2 separate regions of the Homo sapiens genome follow, and region 2 is linked to region 1. Evidence: promoter capture Hi-C in 16 types of primary human blood cells and fetal thymus (Javierre and others, 2016). All regions are on one chromosome and are shown on one strand. The core of a region is centred on a gene start or on the middle of the fragment in contact, and the rest is flanking DNA. Distances in the headings are between cores, read along the strand shown.

Region 1 (6,576 bases), core at 2,086-4,585:
CAGGAGCTAGAGGCTACAGCAAGCTATGATCGTGCCACTGCACTCCAGCCTGCATGACAAAGCAAGACCCTTTCTCAAAAAACAAGTCTGGGCACAGTGGCTCACGCCTTTAACCCCAGCAATTTGGGAGGCTAAGGTGGGTGGATCACCTAAGGTCAGGAGTTCGAGACCAGCCTGACCAATGTGAAACCCCGTCTCTACTAAAAATACAAAAATCAGCCAAGTGTGGTGACACGTGCCTGTAGTCCCAGCTACTCAGGAGGCTGAGACAGGAGAATTGCTTGAACCTGGGAGGCGGAGGTTGCAGTGAGCTGAGATCGCACCACTGCACTCCAGCTTGGGCGACAGAGCAAGACTCCGTCTAATAAAAAAAAAAAAAGGTTGTGCGTGGTGGCTTACACCTGTAATCCCAGCACTTTGGGAGGCCGAGGTGGGCGAATCACAAGGTCAGGAATTCAAGACCAGCCTGACCAATATGGTGAAACCTCGTCTCTACTAAAAATACAAAAATTAGCCGGGCGTGGTGGTGGCACACGCCTGTAATCCCAGCTACTCAGGAGGCTGAGGCAGAAGAATCGCTTGAACCCAGGAGGCAGAGGCTGCAGTGAGCCGAGATAGTACCACTGCACTCCAGCTTGAGCGACAGAGTGAGACTCCATCACACACAAAAAAAAGACAACAAGAAGGGATGCTTAAAATCATTAGTAACCAGAGAAATACAAATTAAAGCAACAATGAAATATCACTTTATATCTATTAGACTGACAAAAATTAGAAAAGCGGATAATGTCTATCACTGGCAGGGATGTAGAGATACAAGGCCCCTCATATGCTACAGGTGGAAGAGTATGCTGGTGCAGCTTTTCCAGAGAATTCAGTGCTACTTAGACAGGTGAGTTCTACGTATACTCTATGACCCAGCAATTCCACCTCTGGTTTTATATCCCCCCAAATTCTCACACAGAATTAGGGCACATACTTAAGCATGTTCACTGCAGCCTTGTTTATAATGACAGAGAGCTGGAAGCTGAGTGCCCTATGCCCAGAGATGAACAGGTACAATATGTGACTGTACACCACAGAGGACTGCGTTACTCGCTAGTTAGACATCATGCGGCGACATAGCCCTTAGTGGAAAAATAGTAAGACACAGCTATACAACTCAAAACACACCATTTACATAATGCATACAAATGTACAATGTTTAAGTCCAGATTAGAAGAAATCAACTGTAAAAAGACATTTGTAACAATCCAGGAGAAATTTGGGCATAAACATTAGATAATATTAACATAGGATAGTGCTATTTTAAATTAGCAGCACATATAAGCCGGGTGCAGTGGCTCACACCTGAATCCCAGCATTTTGTGAGACTGTGGTGGAAACATCTTGAGCCCAGAAGTTTGAGACCAGCCTGGGCAACACAGTGAGACCCCCATCTCTACAAAAAAAAAAAATTTAAATTAGCTGGATGGGGTGGCCCACACCTGTGGTCCCAGCTGCTCCAGAGGCTAAGATAGGAAGATCACTTGCGCCTGCGAGGTCGAGGCTACAGTGAGCCATAATGGTGCCACTGCACTCTAGCCTGGACAACAAAGTGACACCCTGACTCAAAAATAATAGTAATAATAGTTAAGGGCCGGGCGAGGTGGCTCACGCCTGTAATCCCAACACTTTGGGATGCCAAGGCCAGCGGATCGCTTGAGGTCGGGAGTTCGACACCAGCCTGGCCAACACGGTGAAACCCTGTCTCTACTAAAAATACAAAAATTAGCTGGGGGGTAGCGCACGCCTGTAGTCCCAGCTACTCGGGAGGCTGAGGCAGGAAAATGGCTTGAACGCAGGAGGTGGAGGTTGCAGTAAGCCGAGATCGCACCACTGCCCTCCAGCCTGGGCGACACAGTGAGACTCTGTCTTTAAAAAATTAAACAAAAAATAAAAATAAAATAAAATTGGAAGGACAGTGCCTCTTCTGAAATGGCTGAGAAACAAAAAGAACTCAGGTAAAGAACATATCCAAGTAGCTGGGGTGGAAGAGGGCAGCCTGGGGAATGTGTCCCAGATGGTATCAGAGAAGCCATTATGGAGCCACTAAAATGAGGAATGGTGGCTGACAACCTCCCTGGCGGGCTCTACTAGGAGATAAACCCAATCCATCAATCTCCATAAAAGGCTACTCTTTGCTGGAAGGTGACAGTGGGGAATCAGCCTAAACTTCTTTTTTTTTTTTTTTTGAGACCGAGTCTTGCTCTGTCACCCAGGCTGGAGTGCAGTGACGCCATCTCGGCTCACTGCAACCTCCGCCTCCCGGGTTCCAACGATTCTCCTGCCTCAGCCTCCCGAGTAGTTGGGATTACAGGCGCCCGCCACCACGCCGGGCTATTTTTTGTATTTTTAGTAGACACGGGGTTTCACCATGTTGGCCAAGCTGGTGTCGAACTCCTGAACTCGTGATCCGCCCGCCTTGGCCTCCCAAAGTGCTGGGATTATAGGCGTGAGCCGCCGCACCTGGCACGCCTAAGCTTGTTTTTACCGCCAGGAGGTGCCCTTGGACCACAGCTGAATTTTGAATGCTAGACAGTCGGGAAACTCAGTTGCCTAGACTTCCAGCTTGGTGTGTACGAGGAGACCCTGTCCCACCCAGAACTAGGGACCTCGCTGGGCCTCTCCACCAAGTATTCCTCTGGCGTGCTCACCACAGACCAGGACTGTGATGGACACACAATGAGTGAGAGAGAATCAGACCACGGATACTCACGAGCAAACAAAACATGACTAAGCGTAGCCTGGGTAGCAATGCCTCTTAGGCCTGTCCCAGTTCTGCCAGGTTATCTTTCTGCCCCTTGGTTCTCAGTTTCCGTAGCAATAAATAACACCTCTGCAATGACAAACTTTAAAATAATGTTTAAAGCGCTACAAAACAATGACTAGTTTTGCTTAAAATGTGGCGCACCTGTATTTTTGAAATGTTGCCCCAAGCTGCCACAGAAGCCGGCCAGCCCGCTACAAAAGCCCCTTTTTAGGGCCCTCGGGGAGATTCCTCTGTCATTAGCTCCCCGCCCCCCTCAAAGGGCCCAAGAGCAGGACCCATTGTGGTGAGCGACTCCCCAAGGCCTCCGCTTTTCTAGGCAGTGGTTGCGTTCAGAGCCCCTCTGACGCAGCAGTGGCGACCCTTTCCAGGGTGGTGACTGGCTGGCTGGGGCTGGGGGTGGGCTGACCTCCGCGGCGCCGCGCCACCACCAACAGGCCCCGCCCCCGTGCTGCGTGGTCATTTGTATGCAGCCTCGGGATTGGTCACTCGGCTCCCGCGAGGGGAAGGGGAGGGAAGCAGCGCGCACTCGCGCGTGCGTGAGCTGGCGCGCGAGAAAGGGCCCGGTCGCGTCCAGGCTCGAGCGGCCGTCGCCATTTTGTAAGGTTCTCTCTGACGTGGGAGCCGCCGTCGCTGCCGCCACCCGGAGGTGCGAGGGGGTCGTGTGTGTGTGATGTGGGGAGCTCGGGGGCGGGTCGGGCCGGGCCTCCGGCAGACTGCACGGCCCGGATTTGGGTTTCTCATTTTGCAGCGGGAGGTCTGGGAAGACAACGGGAGGAGGCGGGGCCGGGTCTCCGGAAGGAGGCGGGGCAGGGGTCGGGTCGAGTCTTTGTTGGGGCGAAGAAGCTGGAGGGTGGGCCGCTGGGGGCGAGGTGGTTGGTCCCCGGTTTGGGGGAAAGGGGACTTTTTTCTTTTTAGAGTATCTTGAAAGGCGCTAGTGCGCGCAGGAGAGGTACACAGATTTCCCTCCAAAACCTTGTTACCAGGCGCACTGCGATTGATGCCCCTTGCCTTTGCTTGGGCTTTTCTCTTCCCTCATTTTAAGACATGAAGCAGCTAATTCTGGTATTTCATTGCGCTCCACTTCACGGAGATGATAGACTGGGCTATGCATGCTGACCCTCGACCTCCTGTTTGCATGTCACGCATAGCTCGCACTTCTCGAGAACAAACCGCCCTTCTTCTATTGAGGAAGAATAATGAATGTCTGTACGAGGGTCTTGAAGGTGCAAGAACTTTGGAGGATTAGACGAAAATGCTGCAGTGCACCGAAATTTCCCACCACACCCCTGACTTTTGAAGTCTTGTGTTTCTCTCCCAGGCTCTTGTCAGGATGGTGAAGCTGTTCATCGGAAACCTTCCCCGGGAGGCTACAGAGCAGGAGATTCGCTCACTCTTCGAGCAGTATGGGAAGGTGCTGGAATGTGACATCATTAAGAATTACGGCTTTGTGCACATAGAAGACAAGACGGCAGCTGAGGATGCCATACGCAACCTGCACCATTACAAGCTTCATGGGGTGAACATCAACGTGGAAGCCAGCAAGAATAAGAGCAAAGCTTCAACCAAGTTACACGTGGGTAACATCAGCCCCACTTGTACCAACCAAGAGCTTCGAGCCAAGTTTGAGGAGTATGGTCCGGTCATCGAATGTGACATCGTGAAAGATTATGCCTTCGTACACATGGAGCGGGCAGAGGATGCAGTGGAGGCCATCAGGGGCCTTGACAACACAGAGTTTCAAGGTGAACTGCTCTGGGCCTGGGTAGTAGCGCCGAGTGGGGTCTAGCTCAAAACAGGCAAGAACACAAGACTATAGAACTTGCTGGGTGGTCTCTTCCATTCTGTTTTAGCTGGAAATAATAGATTATGTTTACCGCTCTTAAGCATAATTTACCCCTGGGGAAGCAAACACTTCCCCTTTTCAGGTTTGCTAAGATGTTGCTCACCGACTGCATAGAATCACAAACTGTGGGTTACTTTACCCTGCGGGATTCTTGCATTGATTCGAGTGCTGTTGGAAGTGTAATCTGCTTGGGGAAACGAGTACCTCATGAGAGAAGGGAGGATAAAGGTCCGTGGCTTACCTGCTTCTTTGGTGATGATCAGGAAGCCTTATATTTGAGGGTTTAAGTGCTTAAGATTTATATTCTTTACTGCTTTGGGTGGATACTGGTGGGAAAGAAGAAAAAAGACATCTAGAGGAAGCCCTATATTATAAATCTGGGTGGCAAGTCTGGATCTGCGGGAGTATCTTTTTGTTGATCAAAGTTGTGCAGTCTCTTCAAGCAGAGTCAAAAAAACATGCCATGGAGTGTTCTGCTCCACCTGTTCATTTCACCCTCAGAAAAGGAAATTTCTAAATATATCAGACTCAATGGGAATGATGGTCCCGCTTCTGAAGAAATTTCAGTACAAGCATCGTAGAGCATATCATACTATTTATACCGATAATAAAGGTACATATGTTGTCATTAATACCACAAGAGGTTGTCAGAAGACTCTAGAACTGTGCTAATATGGTAACCACATGCGGCTTAGTAAATTGAAATTAACAGATTAGATAAAATTTAAAATTCAGTTTTTCAAGTGTATACCAGACACGTTTCAAGCACTCAGTAGTCATGAGGCCTGTGGCTACCGTATTAATAGAGACACAGAACATTTCCATCATCATAGAACATTCTTTTGGATAGCACTGTTCTACAAGTGTTTTGTTAACAGTATCGTCTTGGACCTCATGTTCATAGCCACTTTTGTGGTTCCTAAGTCAACACCTTTTTTGCCCTGAGTGTCATTAAAGGGGTTGTTAAGAAGTACTTTTGGGTCTTCTATTAAAACTAAAAAACAAAATGAGAAAAATAATGGGAGAAGAGGAAAAGTTGACCAGAGAAGGGTAAGAAAGTTTGCATAGTGGAGATGGGTAGAGGAGCACCATCAAGTATCTCCAGCTTCAGCCAGTGATGCCTTGGCCTTTAGCTGCTCTTTAAAGCATAGGGCAAAGGTTGCAGATACTTCCTACCATTAACTAGTGTGTGACCTTGGACAAGTGTTTTAACATTTCTCTGCTTCATTTTCCTCACTAAGATTGTCCCCACTTATGGAGTTAATGATCCCTACTGTACCTCCCTCACAGGATTGTAGTGGGGCTAGAATGAAGAAATCGATGTGAAAGTGTTTTGATAGTAAAAGCTCTTTATGATGACAGGTGATTGCTCTTTGCAACCATGAGTGTTTCTATTCTGGTTAGAAAATTATTGAAAGTGTGATAGCGAAGCTTTCCTTATTGGTTTGCTTTTCTTACATTTGTTTTTCTTTTTCTTATTTTGGAATGTTGTTGCATTTTCAGCTTTTAAAAGTATCTTAATTATTTTCATTTGATGGGGGAAATCATCATGATGGACAGTGGAGACTGGGGAAGGAGGGTTTTCTCCTGACAGGTAATGAGCAAAATGTAAAAGAATGTAAAGTTGGGTACAAACTGCAGAGGTATTCTAGTAATGTCATACAGAATGCCCTTACCTTTTAAATATATTTAATACAGGCAGGGTGCGGTGCCTCACACCTGTAATCCCACCACTTTGGGAGGCCAAGGCGGGTGGATCACCTGAGGTCAGGAGTTCGAGACCAGCCTGGCCAACATGGTGAAATCCCATCTCTACTAAAAATACAAGAAAACTAGCAAGGCGTGGTAGTGTGTGCCTGTAATCCCAGCTACTCGGGAGGCTGAGACAGGAGAATCGCTTGAACCTGGGAGGTAGAGGTTG
Region 2 (6,576 bases), core at 2,463-4,962, 100 kb after region 1:
TCAGTCCAGGAAAGAAGTCTGGTCTCAAAACATGAGGCCCATGGTCAGGCGCGGTGGCTCACAGCTGTAATCCCAGCACTCTGGGAGGCCGAGGTGGGCGGATCACCAGGTCAGAAGATCAAGACCATCCTGGCTAACACAGTGAAACCCCATCTCTACTAAAAATACAAAAAATTAGCCATGCATGGTGGTGGGTGCCTGTAGTCCCAGCTACTTGGGAGGCTGAGGCAGGAGAATCGCTTGAACCTGGGAGGCAGAGGTTGCAGTGAGCCGAGATTGCGCCACTGCACTCCAGCCTGGGGCCTGGAATGTCTATCCTTCTATCCATCTATCCATTCTATCCATTCATATGCCCATCCATCCCCATCCATTCATTCATTCTACAAATATTAGGGCAAACCAACTAAGGGCCAAGCCGTGCCATTTTTTCACCCTTGTTGACCTTAGTCCCTCTTGGGAGCCCCAACCTTATCATACTTGATCAAATTCACCTATACCCCATCTTAAGTAATGTGATATTGTAATTTTTTTTTTTTTTGAGATGGAGTCTCGCTCTGTTGCCCAGGCTGGAGTGCAGTGGCACGATTTCGGCTCTCTGCAAACTCTGCCTCCCGGCTTCAAGCGATTCTCCTGCCTCAGCCTCCCAAGTAGCCGAGATTACAGGCGCCCTCCACCATGCCCAGCTAATTTTTTGTATTTTTAGTAGAGACGGGGTTTCACTATGTTGGCCAGGCTGGTCTCAAACACCTGACCTCGTGATCCGCCCACCTCGGCCTCCCAAAGTGCTGGGATTTCAGGAGTGAGCCACTGTGCCCGGCAATCGTTGTTTTTGAGGCAGAGTTTTGCTCTCTTGTGCAGGCTGGAGTGCAGTGTCAGGATCTCCCCTCACTGCAACCTCTGCTTCCCGGGTTTAAGCAATTCTCCTGCCTCAGCCTCCCCAGTAGCTGGGATTACAGGTGTGCGCCACCATGCCCAGCTAATTTTTGTATTTTTAGTAGGGATAGGGTTTCACCATGTTGGCCAGGCTGGTCTTGAACTGCTGACCTCAGGCGATCCACCTGCCTTGACCTCCCAAAGCGCTGGAATTACAGGCGTGAGCCACCGTGCCGGCCGGTTTATGTTTAAGGAGGTCCCTCCAGCTGTGGCCTGCAGAGGAGCTTGTTGGAGGCAGGAGTGGATTCGGTCAGGCAAGCAATGGTGAGGGCTTGGTCATAAGCGGCGGCTACGGGAATGGGGAGAAGTGGACAGATTGGAGAGATATTGGGGGGAGGGCTGGACTCCAGGGCACTTGGAGATGGGCTAGACGTGCGGCATGAAGGCAAAGGAAGAATCAATGACATTTCCAATTCTCTGGACTGAAGAGCTGGGGGAATAGTGATGCCATATGCTGGGATGGGAGATTCCTGAGGACGGGTGAGGATGAAAACAATACGCAGCTCTGGCTAAGTTTGACATCCAGGCGTTGATGCTATGTAGGTGGTGTGAAGCGCAGGACCCAGATCTGTCCATTTTAACTTTTAGCCACACGTAGGGGATGTAAATTACGGCTGATTTTTATCCGGTGATGCCAAACTCCTCTCTGGCCCTGCCTCCCTGACTCAGTGGTTGCGCTTCGGAGTGCAGTGGCTGCGTGGGAGGTGAGAAGCCTGCAACTTCTTCCAGGGCTCCTGACACTCGGGAATGCGCAGGACCGAGCCTCAACAGCGCCACCGTGTGTCGATAGTCATGACCGCCGTGGACCCCCGACTCCAGTTGTTCTGCCAGCACCCTCAGAATCCAGTCCTCCCTCACTCCCCTGCTCTTTCGGACGAATTAATCACTGTGGATTCTGGAACGCTTAGCGGTGGGAAGAAGGGGTGGCCTCAAAAGAAAGAGGTAGGCCGGGCGCGGTGGCGCACGCCTGTAATCCCAGCACTTTGGGAGGCCGAGGCAGCGGATCACTTGAGCCCAGGAGTTGGAAACCTGCCTCGGCAACATGGCAAAACTCCATCTCTACTAAAATAATAATAATAAATAATAACAATAATAATATAATAGTGAAATATTGGCCGGCCTCAGTGGCACACACCTGTAATCCCAGCATTTTGGGAAGTTGAGGCAGGTGGATCACTTGAGGTGGAGAGTTCCAGACCAGCCTGGCCAATATGGTGAAACACCGTCTCTACTAAAAATACAAAAATTAGCCATGTGTGGTGATGCTGCGTACCTGTAATCCCAGCTACTAGGGAATCTGAGGCAGGAGAATCACTTGAACCTGGGAGGTGGAGGTTGCAGCAAGCAGAGATCGCGCCATTCCACTCCAGCCTGGGTGACAGAACAAGACTCCATCTCAAGAAAAAAAGAAAGAAAGAAATCTACATTTCCATATGCACAGCCTTGGTCAGGATCACACTAGAAGACATCTGAAATGGTCATTGTGAAGTGGGACTGTTCTCTTTTTTGTTTTCTCTTCCTTCCTTCCTTCATTCCTTCTTTCTTTCTTTTCTTTTTTCAGATGAAATCTCATTATGTTTCCCAGGCTGGTCTTGAACTCCTGGCCTCAAGTGATCCTCCCTCTTTGGCCTCCCAAGCAGCTGTGATTACAGGTGTGAGCCTGGCTTGGGACCACTCTTAAATACAGACTGATACAGGCATGTTAACTTCAGAGACATGATCTTGTGAATGGTGAATGACTCCTTGTAAAGATCTGAGCTCATGTAAGGAAAATTCTTTTGATTTACATTTAGCTACATTCCTGGAAAATTCAGTATATACTAAAACTGTGTATATAATATAATGTGTTTACATAACTAACAGAGTTAGGGTTTTCAGCTCATAACTATAAGCAGGTTTTCCACTCATGTAAATAACTTATAGGACATTAGAAAGTTGTGCAGGACATGGAACAATGATCTGTTTTGCAGGACTGTCCCAAACACTGCAGGGTGTCCAGCATGCCTGGCTCATGTCTACTAAAGATCAGAAGAGCCTAATCAGGCCAGGTGCTCTTTCTGTATGTACAAATAGGCTCCAAAAACAAAGTAACTTGCTCATGGTCACATAGTCAATTCGAAGAGGCAGAACCAGAATTAGAACCCAGGTTGGTCAGTCTGACTCCAAAGGCTATGATTTTACCCTCTTTTAAAATTTTTTATTTAAGAGAGATGCAGGTTTCTCTGTGTTGCCTAGGTTGGACTTGTGGGCTCAAGCAATCCTCCTGCCTCAGCCTCTCAAGTAGCTGGGATTAGAGGCACCCACCACCACACCTGGCAACTTTTTTTTTTTTGAGACAAAGTCTTGCTCCATCTCCCAGGCTGGAGTGCAGTGGTGCAATCTCAGCTCACTGCAACCTCTGCCTCTTGGGTTGAAGTGATTCTCCTGCCTCAGCCTTCTGAGTAGCTGGGGTTAGAGGTGCATGCCACCACCCCTGGCTAATTTTTGTATTTTTAGTAGACGCAGGGTTTGCCATGTTGGCCAGGCTGGTCTCGAACTCCTGACCTCAGGTGATCCACCTGCCTTGGCCTCCCAAAGTGCTGGGATTATAGGCATGAGCCACCGTGTTTGGCAAGAGCCTGTCTTTAAAAAAAAAAAAAAAAAAGAAGGCCCAGTGTGGTGGCTCACGCCTGTAATCCCAGCAGTTTGCAGCAGTTTGGGAGGCCGAGACGGGCGGATCACGAGGTCAGGAGATCAAGACCATCTTGGCTAACACAGTGAAACCCTGTTTCTACTAAAAAAATACAAAAAATTAGCTGGGTGTTGTGGTGGGCGCCTGTAGTCCCACCTACTCAGGAGGCTGAGGCAGGAGAATGGTGTAAATTAGCAAGACTCCCTCTCAAAAGAAAAAAAAAAAGAGAGAGAAAGAAAAACAAAATAAATTAAACTTTACTCCCATGTAAGCGTCTCATGCTCTACCGACTGAGCTTGCTGGGCCCTCCACTCTCTTGTAAAAATTGCTGCAGATTTTCATGCGTGTCCGTGTGAAGAGACCACCGAACAGTCTTTGTGTGAGCAACATGGCTGTTTATTTCACCTGGGTGCAGGCGGGCTGAGTCCAAAAAGAGAGTCAGCGAAGGGAGATAAGGGTGGGGCCGTTTTATAGGATTTGGGTAGATAAAGGAAAATTACAGTCAAAGGGGGTTGTTCTCTGGCGGGCAGAGTGGGGGTCACAAGGTACTCAGCAGGGGAGCTTTTGCTGGTTCTAGGACAGGTAAAATGGGGGAATTGTAAGGAGAGTTTATAGGCTTTAAAAGGCCATGCTGTAGCAGGCGAGTGATAACAGGCTTTAATCCTTTTAAAGCGTGCTGTGGGATGGGATCTTGGCATTGAGCGGGGTAAGGGTGATTCGGTTTTAATGAGATGGTAACGGGTGCGTGATCGGTCTCCAAGGAGGAAGTAGAGGTATCTTACACTTGTGGGTTAAGGTGGGGGGATACAAGAGGAGGACACAAAGGAGGCTTTGGATTGGGAAGAAGGGCAGCAATGAGATGTAGTTGTACTCCAGGAATAGTCAGGGAAGCAGATAATTTAGTTGAAGTGTCTCGGCCTAATAAGGGAACTGGGCAGGTGGGGATAAGTAAAAGGAGTGCTTAAAAGAGTATTGTCTAAGTTGGCACCAGAGTTGGGGAGTTTTAAGAGGTTTAGAAGCCTGGCCGTCAATACCCACAACAGTTATGGAGGCAAGGGAAACAGGCCTTTGAAAAGAAGGTAATGTGGAGTGGGTAGCCTCCGTATTGATTAAGAAGGGGATAGATTTACCCTCCACTGTGAGAGTTACCTAGAGCGTCTGTGATGGTCTTGTAGGCTTCCGAGGAGATCGGGCAGTGTCAGTCTTCAGCTGCTAAGCCAAGAAGATCTGGGAAGGAGTCAGTCAGAGAGCCTAGGGTCAGAGTTCCAGGGGCTCTGGGACTGGCTTCCAGGTGAGTTGAACAATCCGATTTCCAGTGGGGTCCCACACAGGTGGGACACGGCTTAGGAGGAATCCCAGGCTGCGGGCATTCCTTGGCCTGGTGGCTAGATTTCTGGCACTTGTAGCAAGCTCCTGGAGAAGGTGGTTCTGGAGGAACGCCTGGCCACTGCGGTTTAGGCGTTTGGAAGTTCTTGTGTGCTGGAGATGTGGCTGGGGTTTGTCTCACAGTGGAGGCAAGGAATTGCAACTCAGAAATATGTTGCTACTTGGCTGCCCCTATTATTGTACACCTTGAAGGCGAGGTTAATTAAGTCCTGTTTTGGGGTTTGAGGGCCAGAATTTAATTTTTGGATTTTTATTTAATGTCGGGAGCAGATTGGGTAATAAAATGTATATTGATAATAAGACGGCCTTTTGACCTTTTAGGGTCTAGGGCTGTAAAGCGTCTCAGGCTTGCTGCCGAATGAGCCATGAACTGGGCTGGGTTTTTTATATTTGATGAAAAGGAGTCTAAAAAATGCTAACTGATTTGGGAGAGGTCGGATAAAGAAAAAGGAGCATTAACCTTGACTATGCCTTTAGCTTCAGCCACCTTTTTAAGAAGAAATTGCTGGGCAGGTGGGGGAGGGCTACTCACGGAATGAAACTGTAAACCGGACCAGGTGTGAGGAGGGGAGGTGATAAAAAGATTATAGGGTGGAGGAGTGGAGGCTGAGGAAGAATTGGGACCTAGCTCCGCCTGGCAAGGAGCAGCCTGGGGAGCGGGGAGGAGGGAAGAGGTCAGATGGGTCTGCAGAAAAGGAAGATTAGAAAGACTCAGCGACACTTGGGGTTGGGACTGAGGGGACAGATAGGAGGGAAAGTCTCTGTGCACTGGGCACAGAGACTAGGGAGGGACCGATGTGTAAAAGAATGCCTGGACGTCAGGCACCTCAGACCGTTTGCCCATTTTACGACAAGAATTATTTAGATCTTGCAGGATGGAAAAATTGAAAGTGCCGTTTTCTGGCTATTTGGAACCACTGTCGAGTTTGTATTGGGGTCAAGCGGCACTGCAGAAGAAAATAAGGCATTTAGGTTTTAGGTCAGGTGTGAGTTGAAGAGGTTTCAAGTTCTTGAGAACACAGGCTAAGGGAGAAGAAGGAGGAATGGAGGGTGGAAGTTTGCCTATAGTGAAGGAGGCAAGTTTAAAGAAAAGGGAGAGTAGAGACATGGAGGGAAGCGGTTCGGGGGTTCTTACCCTCCAGAAAAGCAGGAAAGGGGTCAGGGCGCAGATACGAGGTTGGGGCACGGAAATAAGGGATCAGGGCGCAGAGACATAAGAGGTTGGGGTGCAGAAATAAGGGATCGGGGCACAGAGATATGAGGTTGGGGTACTTGCCCTTCCCCCAGAAAAGCAGGACTTGCCACTAAGGGTGAAGGAGAAGGGGTTGAGGGGTTCTTGCCTCTCCCCCAGAAAAGCAGAGAAGGGGTAGAGACAAGGAGAGAAGGGGCTGGGGTACTTGCCCCTCTCTCAGAAAAGCAGGACTTGCCGCTAAGGGTGAAGGACTAAGGCAGGCATCCCTGCGTGGTCTGACACCTCTGAAACGTGGGTGAATAATCAGAGAGGCATCCCTGCAATGATTAAACACCAAGGGAAAGCTGCCTTCCCAGTCCGTGACCGGCGCCAGAGTTTTGGGTCCATGGATAAA

The links. Contacts are between HindIII fragments. The CHiCAGO score rates a contact against its expected background, and 5 or more counts as called.
Region 2: a fragment that was not itself captured here is called in contact with the fragment with the promoter of RBM4B in region 1 in 17 of 17 cell types (naive CD4 T cells, total B cells, total CD8 T cells and 14 more); the score reaches 19.6 in naive CD4 T cells.

What each region holds. Positions count from the first base shown.
Region 1 is chr11:66,674,646-66,681,221 of GRCh38, reverse strand. It overlaps RBM4B (RNA binding motif protein 4B), which reads left to right and starts at 3,335. Exons shown (of 4, transcript NM_031492.4): 1 at 3,335-3,458; 2 at 4,131-4,554. The coding sequence starts at 4,143. RefSeq lists silencers at 3,133-3,412, 3,613-3,722. The HindIII fragment of the contact is 1,797 bases long and covers 2,525-4,321 here.
Region 2 is chr11:66,574,323-66,580,898 of GRCh38, reverse strand. No RefSeq gene overlaps it. Among named protein-coding and RNA genes, the nearest start is that of CTSF, 9.0 kb to the right of the region's middle. RefSeq lists enhancers at 1,370-2,183, 6,425-6,576 and a silencer at 5,614-5,814. The HindIII fragment of the contact is 7,863 bases long and covers 1-6,576 here.